5 separate regions of the Homo sapiens genome follow, and regions 2, 3, 4 and 5 are each linked to region 1. The links are contacts of gene promoters, found by promoter capture Hi-C in blood cells and fetal thymus (Javierre and others, 2016). All regions are on one chromosome and are shown on one strand. The core of a region is centred on a gene start or on the middle of the fragment in contact, and the rest is flanking DNA. Distances in the headings are between cores, read along the strand shown.

Region 1 (2,700 bases), core at 160-2,659:
TCTCTAACACGCCCTGATCCAAATGGTGTAGATGTCCTTGGAGAACCCTTTAGAAAAAAAATCAGTTAAAAAAACACTTAGTAAAGATAATTGGTACTTCTTCCTTTAGCTAAAGGTTAGCGGGAATCACATTGCTGCTTAAAAGTTGTGACTTGAACCTAAATAATGTTCAATTACAAAGTCCATGCTTCCTTTAATCAAGTGTTCCTATTTTTTAAAAAAAGTACTTAAAGCAATTCGTTATTCTCATTTATTTATAATTCCATGACCACTGTCATCTCAAATACTTTTGTGTCTAATGTAGTAACTTTGCAGTAATTAAATACAAGCAGTGATGAAATCAAGTAATTATATTCAATTTTCCCTCGAAATTTTCACTTTTTTCAGGAGAAAACAATACTATAGTTTTAAAGTTTCTAGAACCTTTCTAGCTCATGAACATTTTCTTTACTCCTTAGCTCCAGGCTCAAAAGGGGTAGGGGGTTGGTGTAGAATACAGCAAGTTGGAAAACCACGTAGTTGCAAGTTGTAAACCACAGAAATCCCAGACATGCTAGAGATACTCTCTCTGTCTTTTGTATTTACTCTCACTAAAGGAATGGAAAACTTCCACTACCACCGATTTTCTTTTCAGGGAAGTTGGAGCAGAAGCCAGTGTAGCTCGAAAGAAAGATAAAAAAAAAAAAAAAAAAAAGAAAAAGAACTATTTCTTGAAACAAACTGGCAAGGCCTTTGGCAAACAGGAGGAAATGGAGAATTAGGAAAATCTGTGTACGGGTGGCAGTGTATTGGTTAAAAGCACGAGGGCTCGAAAACAGAACGTACGGCTCTGCCACTCTTTCGGATAATCTTCCGGAAGTCACTCAACTTCTCTAAGCCTCAGTTCGCTCATCTGCAAAATTGGGCTAACAATAGTACCTCAGAGAGGATTAGACAAAATAATCCACGTAAAGGGAATATTAGTACCGTGCCTGCCATAAAGTAAGAGCTCGGCAAACGCTGGCTATTATTATTACCTGGGGGTGGGTCTGCTGCTGCCCTGGGGAGTAGCCGAATTGCTGCTGGGACCCCGCGGGGGACCTGGAGTAGGAGCCAGGGTAGCCGCCAGGGGACGGAGACCCGAACCGGCCCCCCGGGAAGCTGCCGCCGTGTCGCGGAGAGTGACTGCTCCCGTACGGCCTAGACCGGGGCCCGTACGGCGGCGTGTGGTGCGGACTCCCGTACCCGTCTCGAGGGGAGGGCGGCCGTGGTCCGCCCCCGCCCGGGGTTCCCCGGAAGCTGCTTCCGCTACCCCAACCTCCTCCACCCGGACCAGGGTAAGGAGGAGTTGGGGGCCGAAAATTCTGTCGCTGCATATCAGGAGCCAAAGCCGAAAACCTCGCAGCCGCGTTCTCCCACCGGAACTGTATCAACCGGCCCTCCGCAGAGAACTGCTAGTCCTTTACCAAAACAGTCCTCCGACCGCAGCCACCCTACGGCACATCAGTTCCGGCGTCACAAAGGTTCCGCCAGGGGCGGCGGGATTACCTAAATCACTGACTTGGCGAGAGACTCAGTGGATTTAAGTGAAAAGAGGAAGAAAAGGAGACAGGAAAGGACGGACACCCAAGCCCAGCAACAACCTTTCCAGTCTGAGTGCCCTTGGTCTGACCGACAGACTAGAAGCTGGCCCAGCAGGCGACTAGTGCTCAGCCCCGCCCGGCGGGGGCGGGGTCTGCGGCGTCCGTGGGCGCCCCCCAGTGGCGGCGGGTGGCGCCGCACGGAGTTCGCCGCTTGCACCGGGACCGATGCCATCTGAGACGCACGCGATGCTGGCGACGCTGGCGAGGGTGGCAGCTCTGCGCAGAACCTGCCTCTTCTCCGGCCGGGGCGGCGGGAGGGGGCTGTGGACTGGCCGCCCGCAGTCAGGTACCCTCCGAGATTCGGTCTGGGTGGCTAAAGGGATCCCTGCCCCAGCTTGCCTCCTCGGGCGCCCTGAGGAGAGCAATTAGGGTCTGAAGTCTCTGCTGACCCCTTAGCGGTGGCTTTGCTCGCCTCCCTGCAACCCCGTTCCGTGGGCCTGCGGCCGGCCTGCCCCGCTCTGGCCGCCCAGGGTCGCCTCTGTCCCGTGCGTTGTTGTGACCGAGGGCTCCGTGCGCCGTGGGGTCCCGCTCCTGCGCGTCCCGCGGCTCGCGTTTGGGGCCTCTTTACTCCTGTCCTTTCGTCCGCCAAGTTTAAGTAACTTCGAAAATGCACACCAAGCCACATTTCAGAAAGGACTTTAGCCCGCTGCTTTGAATAACTTGACACTTCATGTACAATAAAAGATGCCCTTGTACAGTTACCTGTTGCAGAATTTTATTTAGAGGATGAAATTTAGCTTTACTACAGTGTTATAGAACTTTCTTTACTCCCTCTGAATTTGGGAATGGTAATCCACTATGAATCTTTTTTTTCCTTTTTTCTTTTTTTCTCTTTTTTTTGAGACGGAGTCTCGCTGTCTCGCCCAGGCTGGACTGCAGTGGCGCGATCTCGGCTCACTGCAACCTCCTCCTCCCGTGTTCAGGAGATTTTCCTGCTTCAGCCTTCCGAGTAGCTGGGATTATAGGCATGCGCCACCACGCCCAACTAATTTTTGTATTTTTAGTAGAGACGGGGTTTCGCCATATTGGCCAGGCTGGTCTCGAATTCCTGACCTCAAGTTATCCTCCCGCCTCGGCC
Region 2 (2,700 bases), core at 40-2,539, 1.2 Mb before region 1:
AATGTTTTGTTTTTTTTTCAAACAGGGTTTTACTCTTGTCACCAGGGCTGGAGTCCAGTGGCAGGATCTTGGCTCACTGCAACCTCCGCCTACCCGCTCAAGTGATTCTCCTGCCTTAGCCTCCCGAGTAGCTGGGACTACAGGTGTACACCACCACGCCTGGCTAATTTTTGTATTTTTAGCAGAGACGGGGTTTCACCATGTTGCTCAGGCTGGTCTTGAACTCCTGAGCTCAGGTGATCCACCCACCTCGGCCTCCCAGAATGCTGAGATTACAGGCGTGAGCCACTAAGCCCAGCCTCCAAACTCATTTTGAATAAAATAATAATCCCTTGTGTTATTGTAGCTTGCCTATCACAAGCAGACAGACTTAATACTAACTGATACAGTGGTAGGGAGCCATTGAGGAGTTTTGAGAATAGAAATGACTCAGCCAAAAGACATCACCTACTGCACCTGAGGAAATTATTATTCTTCTACTTGCCCACCTGACACAGGAGAAAGGGAGCAATCACACGCTCGTGTGTGAGAAGAACAAATTTTCAGATTATAAAAGTTTTGGAATCTTGGGACATAGGACAAGAACATTACTGCCAGGGTACCAATTTGCATTTTTTTTTCCAGTTCATTGTGATATTTAAGAGCTTGAGAATCAGATCAGGATTCAAATTTTGTGTGTGCCATTTATAATAAATCTAGGACAAGTTAACTTTTCCAAAGTCCAGTATTCTTAGCTATTAAATGGGCTAAAAGTACCTTCCAATCAGGGTTGTTGCAAAAAACAAATGAGAAAATGTAGGTCAAGTTCCTTGCCAAAGGCTGGGGCCTAGTTGTATTTATCACTGCTGTACTGCTATTTTGTTTCCTGCACTTCAGTATACACATAACGAACACTGCAGTCTCCTCTTCAGGTTCCATTTTTCATGATCCTCATTTAGAGGCACAGGACCACTCTCAAGACTTACTTGTTTTCATAAAAAGAAGAAAAGAAATTTGGGGGAATGTGCAGAGTCGCCCTTTACTCAGTCTCTCAAAGGAGACTGTGCAGTGATTATCAGAAATCTCTTATACATAAAGAAAGAGTATGGCCCAAAAATGTTAGTTTCTGTACAATTACAGAGAACGTGGAACTGTATCTTACTCATAGTGAGGTTAGAAAATGCTACCAGTTACCCTTTTCTATGCAATTTCCCATAAGTGATCGTCCTTCTAGATATGTGTGCTATCATAAGCAATATATTTGGTCTTTATCTCTGGTTCCTGGCACAGAGCACTTAAAACCTTTAGAATTTCCCAAGTGATAGGAGTATATTTTGTTATTGAATCCCTTTTTATCACACTTGAGTTTATACTAATGAGATGACTTAGGGTGGGGCTCCTATATAGCAGCAAGATGGGACTGGTCACCAGAAAGACCAATTGATTATAGGGCTGGAACTTTCAGCCCCCCAGGGAGGGGCGGGGAAGACTGGAGATTAAGTTCTATAAAAACTCTCGAAATGAGATTTGATGAGTTTCCAATTTGGTGAACACGTCCACGCAGTGGGAGCATGGAGTACCCCATGGGGACGGAAGCTGCTGTGCTCCGTACCCTTCCAGACCTTGCCCTGTGTACCTCTTCATCTGGATGTTCATTTGTATCCTTTATAATAAACTGGTAAATGTAAGTAAAGTGTCTTCCTGAGTTCTGTGAGTCATTCTAACAAGTTATGGAACCTTAGAAGGGGTTCATAGGAAGCTCCTATTTATACCTGGTTGGCCAGAAGCACAGGAGGCCCAGGACTTGCAACTGACATTTGAAGTAGGGGGCAGTTTTGTGGGACTGAGCTCTTAAGCTATAGGGTCTGTGCTAACCCCGGGTGGTTAGTATCAGAATTGAGTTAAGTTGTTGAACACCCAGCTGGTGTCCAGTGAGTCCAAGAGTTGATTGTAGGTATTGGAAAACACTCCAGAGTATGTTAATACTTCACATTTATGGATGTCTAGATGGGAAGTATTAGAAATTAATGGAGAAGGTTAATGTCTTTTTAAAAAGAAAAAGGCAATGTATAAATGGTCTGTCTGATATCACTCAGTAATGAACAAGAGTGAGAAGAGACCCTAGGAGGAATTTTGTCTTTATATTCATTGCAGTATTTTGAGGGATATTTTTCCAGATTTTTTTTCCCACAGATATGTATACAAGGGCTTCCTTTATGTGTTTTAAACATAATTTGAATCACACTCTAGAGTTCTGTGGCATTTTTAAAAAACTTATTGCCTGGGCGCGGTGGCTCACACCTGTAATCCCAGCACTTTGGAAGGCTGAGGTGGGTGGATGACGAGGTCAGGAGATTGAGACCATCCTGGCTAGCATGGTGAAACCCCATCTCTACTAAAAATACAAAAAAACTAGCCAGGTGTGGTGGTGGGCGCCTGTAGTCCCAGCTACTTGGCAGGCTGAGGTAGGAAAATGGCATGAACCCGGGAGACGGAGCTTGTAGTGAGCTGAGATCGCGCCACTGCACTCCAGCCTGGGTGACAGAGCGAGACTCCATCTCAAAAAAAAAAAAAAATCAACCAACCGAACAAATAAAAAAAACTTATTAATACATCAACAATGTAATTTCACATAATATAGAGCTACATAAGTACTTACGTTTATATAGTCTTCCATGGAGTTGATTTCTGTGATTTATGTAACCAATCCTCCTCCACTTT
Region 3 (2,700 bases), core at 141-2,640, 1.8 Mb before region 1:
TATAAAGTATAAGAGACCATGAAGAAAATTTCAGAAAGATTTTAGAAACTCAAGGGTCACTCTCAGCTGCCAGTAAGAAAACAACCTAAGATACTGTTGAATAGTATTCATTCAGTTAATTATGGTGGACCTCAAAAAGTCATAGGAATTTCCTCTAGCACTGTTAAGTAAATAGTTAATGGCCTTTTATTAAAAGACTAATTTTTAAAGTCATAGCAGAAATTCTTGATCCATTAAATGATAGCAAATACCCTTTGAGTGTCAAACATTGTATATATTTATTCTTTTCTTGCAAGCAGAAAATAGGTGTTACTTATCCCCATTTTTCAGATGAAATTGAAGCTTACAGAGAGGTTAAATAACTCCTCGAGGTCACCTAGCTAATAAACAGCACACCAAGAATTTGAACCAAACAGACAAGTCTCCAGAGCCTGTACCATAAGGGAACTGCTTGGCTGTTTATGATTCAGGGATTAATTTCTGTCTTCATGAAGCTGCTGCATTTTGATACAAAATGTTATATTTCCGATTTGATTTCAACTCCCAGCTTCATGCTTTAAAAGAAGTAGTGTTTTGACTGCATTTAGTTATTTGTACAAACCTGTAGCACCCCCTCCTGGCCATTCGAGGTATACCATACATGTTATATTACCCCAATATTAGACCCCAACGAATGGCAAAGACTTCGTATAACGAATGGAAAGGTCCCCAAATGCAAGGCAGGTTCCAACTGCACACCTTATGTGCTTGATAGTTTTAGGCAAGAGACTCCTTCTTGCAGGGCTGTCATTTCCCCCGCCTCAAAATCAGAGGAGTGGGTGATGTTTTTGGTCTCTTCTAGTTCTAATTGTGATTCTGAATTGAATTGATAAACTGGATATTGAAGGAATAGGTGTGGTGAAATGAAAAATGGAAGCTTCTAGTTTTTATTTTGATCCAACAATAATGCATGTTATTTGCTTCCTCTTGACTCAACATTGCTCTAGGAAAAGCCTATTCTATATAGACTCCTTAACAAAAACATTGATTCCTAAAGGTCTTCTGAATGTTTGGATAGCCAATGGCTTTGCAGCCCAGCCTGGCCACTACATGAGGCCGATGACTTTAACAAACTTATTTCAGGCCAGTGTAAATGCAGTGTTCAAAAATCCCACCTAAGAAGGATGGGAACACGGAGGTTTGTGTAGGTAACATGCAGGTGTGTGCACATGTACCCAAGAATGCACACACACATACATGGACACAACTGCAATTGATACAAAAGGCTGAACTGTGCTGATTCTTACAGGTACTTGGTTCTGGCCCAGTCTGGAAAAAAAGAAAAGATCCTTAGTCTAAACATGCATACAAAATAGAATTCCCACCATGCTTTGATGTTATCTATTTATAATTTTCAATGTTTCAATGTTTTGTGGTCTTAAAAATTACAAGGATTATTATCAATAATCCTTGTACCTAATGTGCCTTGACTCTGAAGGACATGGTAACTGCCTGTGGTTTAGAAAATGTTTTGGCTAAAAGACAAGTTCTCCTCCCTCCTCTCATTTTTATATCACAGAGCTGCACGGGGGCTTGGATCAATGCCTGAATCCAGTGTTCCTGAGTGCAGAGCATCTTTGCTCTGGGTGAGCTTTGACCATCCTGGAGAAGAAGGCTGCTGCGGGGGTGGGACAAAGCCAAGACCAATGCCCAGCGGCCAAGGCCAGCCAGATGGCTCTGTGCTGGCAGCCAGTGTACACGGATTTTACCTGAAGGAAAATGTCACATTTTCCACAGACAACTGAAGAAAGAGAGCTCTTTGGATTACCCTAATTGTGATTTACTCATTGGAACCACTGTTTTGGATTGTCCAAAATTAAGTCTCAAAGCTTAAATATGAGGCTTCAGGGAGTTATCCTGAAATCAGTGCTTGGTATCTTCTTGTTTTTTGCTTGTTTTTTAAAACCTTAATTCTCATATTTTTCTGTCATATTTCTCAGTGCCTGGTACATTATCACCATTAATCCATGCCAGTTATGTACAGTTTTGCATGTTTGTTTTTTATTTTACTCTTTTCTCTCCTTCATTCCCTATTCCTGTTCCCCCATAGGTGCCCAGTCTAATGTATTTGATATCTGTCCTTAGAGCCTCCGTATCTGTGAAGACTAGAGTCATGCACTTCATCACATTTCAGTAACGATGGGCCGCATGTACCACAGTCCCATGAGATGATAGAGGTGCAGAAAAATTCCTGTCATCTAGTGACATCGTAGCCATCATAACATCACAACACGACTCTCATTTGTGGTGACCCTGGTGTACACAAACCTACTGTACTGCCAGTTGTATAAAAGTCTAGCACATCCAGCTACGCACAGTACATACTTGAAAATTATAATAAATGACCATGTTACTGGTTTATGTAATTACTATATTATACTTTTTAATCATTATTTTAGAGTGTACAACTTCTACTTGTAAAAAAAAAAAAAGTTAACTGTAAAACAGCCTCAGGCAGGCCCTTCAGTAGGAATTCCAGAAGAAGGCACTGTTGTCCTAGGAGATGACAGCTCCATGTGTGTTACTGCCCTGATGACCCTCCGTGGGTACAAGATGTGGAGCTGGACTACAGTGATATTGAAGATCTCGACCCTGTAGGCCTAGGCTAATGTGTGGCTGTGTCTTGATTTTTAGCAAAAATGTTTTAAAAGTGAAAATGTT
Region 4 (2,700 bases), core at 140-2,639, 1.7 Mb after region 1:
AAAGGAGAGAGATGTCCCCCAAGATGACTATTCTAAAAAGATGAGTTCTGCTAACAGAGTTTCTCAATCTTGGAACTATTAATATTTGGGGCTGGATATTTCTTTCTGTGGAGGCTATGCTGTGCATTGTAAGATGGTTAGCAGCACCCCTGGCCACTAGCCACTAAATGCCAGTAGCACCCTCTCAGTGTGACAACCAAAAATGTCTCTAGACATTGTCAGATATTCCTGGGAGGCAAAATCTCACCTGGTTGTGAACCACCATGCTAAAGCACATCCAAGGAATTTTGGAAAGACAGAAAATGGAGTCCTTATTTCATGTAGGGAGTCAGAAAAAGCGTTTTTTGAGTTAAGCTCTAAAATTTATTTATTCAGCAAATATACTGAGCATCTACCAGATGTAAAGTGCTAGATTATTCATGAAGTGATTTAGGAGTTTCCTAAATAGTGGGAAGAGTATGTACCCAGAACAGCACCATATGTTCAGAAAACTACAAGGTGTTTGATAGCTATGGCCTGTGATATATGGGATGGTCAGTAGGAAAATGAAGCTAGAAACTAAAAATGCTCCAGTTTAAGAAAAGCCTTGGGCTTCATGCCAAGGGGTTAGGAGTTTGGGGTTTACCCTGTGGATGATGAGAGGTTACTAAAAGATATTAAGCAAGAGATTCTTATGGATGAATCACATTGACTGTTACACAGTTGGTAAAGCAGTCTATTGAAAAGTCAAACATCCTGTCAACTACTACCTGCCCTACAAAAAATGACCATTGTGTCTGAGTTTCCTCACTGAATGAATCTCACAGATGATCTCTCAGAGCTGAGTTTCCTGGGTTTACAGATCCTTAAGGAAAATTCATTTCTGCTCCTTCCTATGGAAGACTTGCCTTTCCAATAGCTGTGAGGTGCAACATTATTGCCATGTGCACTAGAAGTCCTGCCATCCAAGCTGGAAAAGGAAGAAACATAGTTGGAGGAAAACCCCAAATGGATAAAGCAATCTGCAGAGCCTAACTATTTTACCGATGCCCTAATTTCTAACTTCCAGAATATACATTTTTATTTTTGAAAAGCAAACTTTGCTGCTTGAATCTAGTTTGGATCTAGGTGGTTTGGGGCAGCCTGCCAGGCTCACAGATTAAGTGAAAGTCATTACAAAATGTTTTTACGCACATGGGAATCACAGGGATTGTTTGGTGCTAGTTTGGCTCTCCACCATTAATTTTAATTATCTCAAAATGCAAACATGCTGAAATTTCCAGCAGATGACATTATTTTCTCCTTGACATCAGACATAAAAGGAAGAAAAATAAACATACGACAGTGACAACATTAAGCTGGTAGGCATTTTTCTTTAATATTTCAAATTCAATTCCAGACCAGATTCTCTGTTTTGTCCTAGAGATTAGGGTAGGAAGATTGTCGTCTTGGTCTGATGAAAGCCTTGCCTTTCCAGTTAGCTTAATTAAAGGAAAAAGGGAGGAAGCCAGGAGGAGAACAGTCTGGTTTAGATCAGGGTCAGAGGCTTGGTTTTTACAAACACACCACAGATTCTTGTTGTTTTATGTTTTCAACATTTTTCTGGTTCTTGGTAGAAAGTCCAGTTCCGTTTTCAAAATGAACTAACCCCGTAGGTCCAGTGACTTGGCACTTTTTTTAAGTGTTTGGTGTTTCTGATGACAGCAGACCAGAGCCAGGAAGATTGTGTAGGTTCCCACATAGTCTCAGGACACGGAGAGATGATGGGTAGCTACCATGGTAAACTAGCAATGTGGGTACCCTAGTTCTCAAGGTCTATAACTAGTACCAGAATTAGATCATTTATCAAAACTTTCTTACACCATTTAAAAATTAATGTGTAAATTCTATCTGCTGTGGAGACTATGTTCATGCTAAGTCTCTTTACTTCCTCTTGCTATGTAATATGTCGTTTACTGTATATTACAAGAAATGCTAAGTGTGTTCAGCTATATACCTAGGGTAACCAACTCATCCTGACTTGTCTGGGACTTTCCTCATTTGCCTAAGACCTTTCTGGTTTTAACACTGAAAGTCCTCCATCCTGGGAAATCCCTCCATCCCTGGTAAACCAGGATAGTTGGTCACCCTAGTTGACTATATATCAATTGCATATATACATTATATAGTTGGTGGTTGAGAAAAGCTAATTAGTCACAGCTGTTTCTTATCAAATGAAAGAAGAAAGCCTTCTCACTGTGACCACAAAAGGCTAAAACACACAACTATATTTTACATGTGACTAACACATTGAAAATAACCAAATATTAAAAAGGCTTTTTAAAATAAATCAACTTTATTGATAGTTTGTTTACAATAAAATGCATTGATTTCAAGTGCAAATTTCAATGAGTTCTGACAAATATATACACCACATAAACACCACCACAATCAAAATAAAAACTTTTTTTTTAATTTAAAAGTGCCCCCTTCCTAGTCCATTTCCCACCCCTCTACCCTGGCATAATTCTGTCATCAATTTTCTGCTAATAATTTGGAAAATATCAATTGAAGAAATTATTTTTAAGACTATGATTACTAAAAGAATTGATTCAGAAAGAAGAAAAAGAAATAAGCCAAAAACTATGCAATACATTTTAAAAGTTGGAAAACAGTGTCAGATGGTTTAAAGGAACTTAATTTTCAGGCCATCTGAGTTCCTATAATGCATAGAAAAGGATG
Region 5 (2,700 bases), core at 43-2,542, 1.6 Mb after region 1:
TATGATAGCTATCTGGTATCCTGGCCCCTGGGTTAGAATTTCAATTCTAAAACATTATACTAGTTTTAAAACACTAAATGTTTGTTTTGTATTATTGCTTGAGTGAGAAATAAGCCTTTATTGATTTTGAGGCATCATCATTTTGGGAACTATTTCTTCTAGCAACTATTACCTTCAAGACAGAGAAGAGCAGAAGATGAGAAATTTAAAGGCAGAGGCTTGGGAACCTTCATATTTACGAGGTGAGTGGAGGAAGAGGAGCCTGTGAGGAGCTTTGAGAAGGAGTCAGATGTGTAGGAGAAAAACAAGTAGGGAACATTGTCAAGGAAGCCAAGAAAAGTGAGAGTTTGAAAAGGTCATATGACACGATGTGGTCAAGTAAGACACTGACAGAAAGGCCCAATAGATCTGGCAATATTCTAATCAGTGCCAGTGCTAGCCTGAGCAGATCAGCTTTGTTACTTGGGGATAGATTTTAGTGGGAAGAGAAGGGGATGAGAAGACTAAGGAGATGTATTCTGTCAAACGTGAAGAAGAAATTGAGTAATGACTAGAGAAGGAGACATTGAGGATTGAGAGAAAGCCCTTTTAAATTTTAAGATAGAGATTTAAGCTCTTCGGAGAGAAGTGAACTGCTAAAGGTAAATAATTTTACAATATGAGAGAAGACAGATAAGCAAGTTTCCTGCTGAAGTGAGAAATGATGGATTGATTCCAAAATAGACCCACATTCACACCACTCCTTACCACCTCCACCACCGTCCCTCAGGCCAAACTGCCATCCCTATTGACCTAAATATACCACCACACCTGAATAATTGCAACAGCCTCCTAGCAAATCTCCCTACTCCCATCCTTGCCCCCATAGACTATCTGGAATCCAACACTCAAAATGACCCTTTCAAAAATGCAAGGCAGATGAGGTCTCTCCTTTGCTCCTACCCTCCCGTGGCTTCTCCACTCGCTCACTATTGTGGCCAGAGAGAAGCTACGTGACCTGGCCACATCCCCGAACGTGCCTTCTTCTCTGTTTCTCCTTGGTCTCTGTCTTCTTCCCATGTGATCCCCCTTGCTATCCTTCCAACAGAATGAGCTCGTGCATTTCCCAAGCCTTTGTGCTTGACGTCGCCTCTGCCAGGAATTTCATCATTTTCCATCAGACACCCTCGCAGCTCACTCCCTGAATTTCTTGTTATTTGTTTCCAGATCGCTGAAGCCTTTTTGGACCACTCAATATAAAATAGCAACGGACTCCATCCTGGTACACCCTAACACCCAGGCTGTTTCATTTTTCTCTGTTATATTTATCACCATCTGAGGTATTTTTTTATTGCCTATGTGACAACACTAGAATGAGGGTAGAGACATTGTTTTGTTAACAGCTAAATCTTGGCACCTGAAACTGTGTTTGACATGTAGTAGTTGCTCAATAAATATTTGTTGGCTGATGAATTAATCCTAAGCATAGGTGGTAGGATTAGCCTTAAATTAAACAAGAAGAAAAAAAAATAAAGGATAGGCATAGAGAGACATGATAATAACTGACAGAGAAGGGAATTAAGAGAATTTTCATCTCATTGATTTTGCAGTAAAAAAGAAGGTAAGCTCATCTGCTGAGAGAGATGTCAAAGCTGGTGGAGGTGGTGGAGTGGAAGGTTTGAAAAGACAGATGAAATGTTATAACAGTGGCAGAAGCAGATAGGAGATGAGGGGGCTTCCGAACACCTCCAGGCATTCTGGAAGTCATTGAGACTGAATGCACAGAAGTTTCAGGAACACCAAACCACAGAGTTGTTCTGTCTTACCCAGAAGTGTTCTTCACTGTAAAGTGTAGAAGAGAGAAGGTCAATTGTTTAGATATAGCACTCCTGTCCAGTAGAACTTTCTGCAATCATGAAAAGTTTCTACAATCTGTACCGTGCAATCGAGTAGCCACTGGCCACGTGTGCTTATTGAACATTTGGAATGTGGCTATTGTGACTGGCTGCACACTACACAGTGCACATCGGGCGATCCAGACTCAGATTCTGGCAGAGCAGGAGCTGAGAAAGGACAACAAAGAATGGGAGTAAAAGGAAAGGTCAGTAAAGAAACTGAGCTGTGCCCTCAGGAATCTGAACCAGGTGAAGAAAGAAGTGAAGCCAGAAAGCAACTGATAGTTTGTGAAAAATAGCATCATCCAGGAATCAGAGATATCGATGATGTGAAATGTAGGTATGTTGAGAGAGAGTGAGAGCTAATGGGCATTGGGTCTCAGAAAATGGAATGCTGAAGATTAAGATTTCAAAGGACAAACCATTGTGAATAGTGAAACAGCCCAGGGCATGGGCATAGGATGTGTTTCTTATGTGGAGTGGTTGTGAAAGTCTTTGGTGTTAAGGGATTCAAAGGTCTGTAAGAGAGGGTTGGCTGAATAAAAAACCTGGGGTAGATGTCTGGCACAGAGATGTATAATGTGATAGCCACAGCCTCAAGGCTGTTTTTAGATGAAGGTGGAAATACGATGAAGATGATGCTCTGTTAGTTATCATTGATCAAGCACTCATTTCTGCTACGCATGGAGCAAAGTGCTTGATATATGTGTAATACCCTTTCACCCTTCAAATAACAATTTGAAATAGGTTTTCTTATTATTGCTAATTACAGATGAAGCCACTGAGGTTTGGAAAGACCAGATAACTTGTCCAAGGATATACCCTG

The links. The method cuts DNA at HindIII sites, captures the fragments that hold promoters and counts their contacts. A CHiCAGO score of 5 or more calls a contact.
Region 2: a contact is called between a fragment that was not itself captured here and the fragment with the promoter of MPLKIP in region 1, in 3 of 17 cell types (non-activated CD4 T cells, activated CD4 T cells and naive CD4 T cells). The highest score is 8.9, in non-activated CD4 T cells.
Region 3: a contact is called between a fragment that was not itself captured here and the fragment with the promoter of MPLKIP in region 1, in 2 of 17 cell types (naive CD8 T cells and activated CD4 T cells). The highest score is 7.5, in naive CD8 T cells.
Region 4: a fragment that was not itself captured here is called in contact with the fragment with the promoter of MPLKIP in region 1 in 2 of 17 cell types (neutrophils and total B cells); the score reaches 8.4 in neutrophils.
Region 5: a fragment that was not itself captured here is called in contact with the fragment with the promoter of MPLKIP in region 1 in 1 of 17 cell types (neutrophils); the score reaches 6.7 in neutrophils.

The regions. Positions count from the first base shown.
Region 1 is chr7:40,133,213-40,135,912 of GRCh38, forward strand. MPLKIP (M-phase specific PLK1 interacting protein) reads right to left here and starts at 1,410. Exons shown (of 2, transcript NM_138701.4): 1 at 1,017-1,410; 2 at 1-47. The coding sequence starts at 1,355. SUGCT (succinyl-CoA:glutarate-CoA transferase) reads left to right here and starts at 1,793. Exons shown (of 14, transcript NM_001193313.2): 1 at 1,793-1,908. The coding sequence starts at 1,809. RefSeq lists silencers at 1,136-1,205, 1,666-1,865 and an enhancer at 1,416-1,485. The HindIII fragment of the contact is 4,548 bases long and covers 1-2,700 here.
Region 2 is chr7:38,915,797-38,918,496 of GRCh38, forward strand. No RefSeq gene overlaps it. Among named protein-coding and RNA genes, the nearest start is that of VPS41, 8.0 kb to the left of the region's middle. The HindIII fragment of the contact is 5,075 bases long and covers 1-2,700 here.
Region 3 is chr7:38,373,999-38,376,698 of GRCh38, forward strand. It overlaps TRG-AS1 (T cell receptor gamma locus antisense RNA 1), which reads left to right. Exons shown (of 4, transcript NR_040085.2): 4 at 1,559-2,700. Among named protein-coding and RNA genes, the nearest start is that of TRG-AS1, 34 kb to the left of the region's middle. RefSeq lists a silencer at 490-784. The HindIII fragment of the contact is 952 bases long and covers 915-1,866 here.
Region 4 is chr7:41,868,637-41,871,336 of GRCh38, forward strand. No RefSeq gene overlaps it. Among named protein-coding and RNA genes, the nearest start is that of INHBA, 170 kb to the left of the region's middle. RefSeq lists an enhancer at 1,989-2,038. The HindIII fragment of the contact is 5,071 bases long and covers 1-2,700 here.
Region 5 is chr7:41,715,778-41,718,477 of GRCh38, forward strand. The region is part of intron 2 of INHBA-AS1 (INHBA antisense RNA 1); the gene reads left to right. Among named protein-coding and RNA genes, the nearest start is that of INHBA, 14 kb to the left of the region's middle. The HindIII fragment of the contact is 4,048 bases long and covers 1-2,700 here.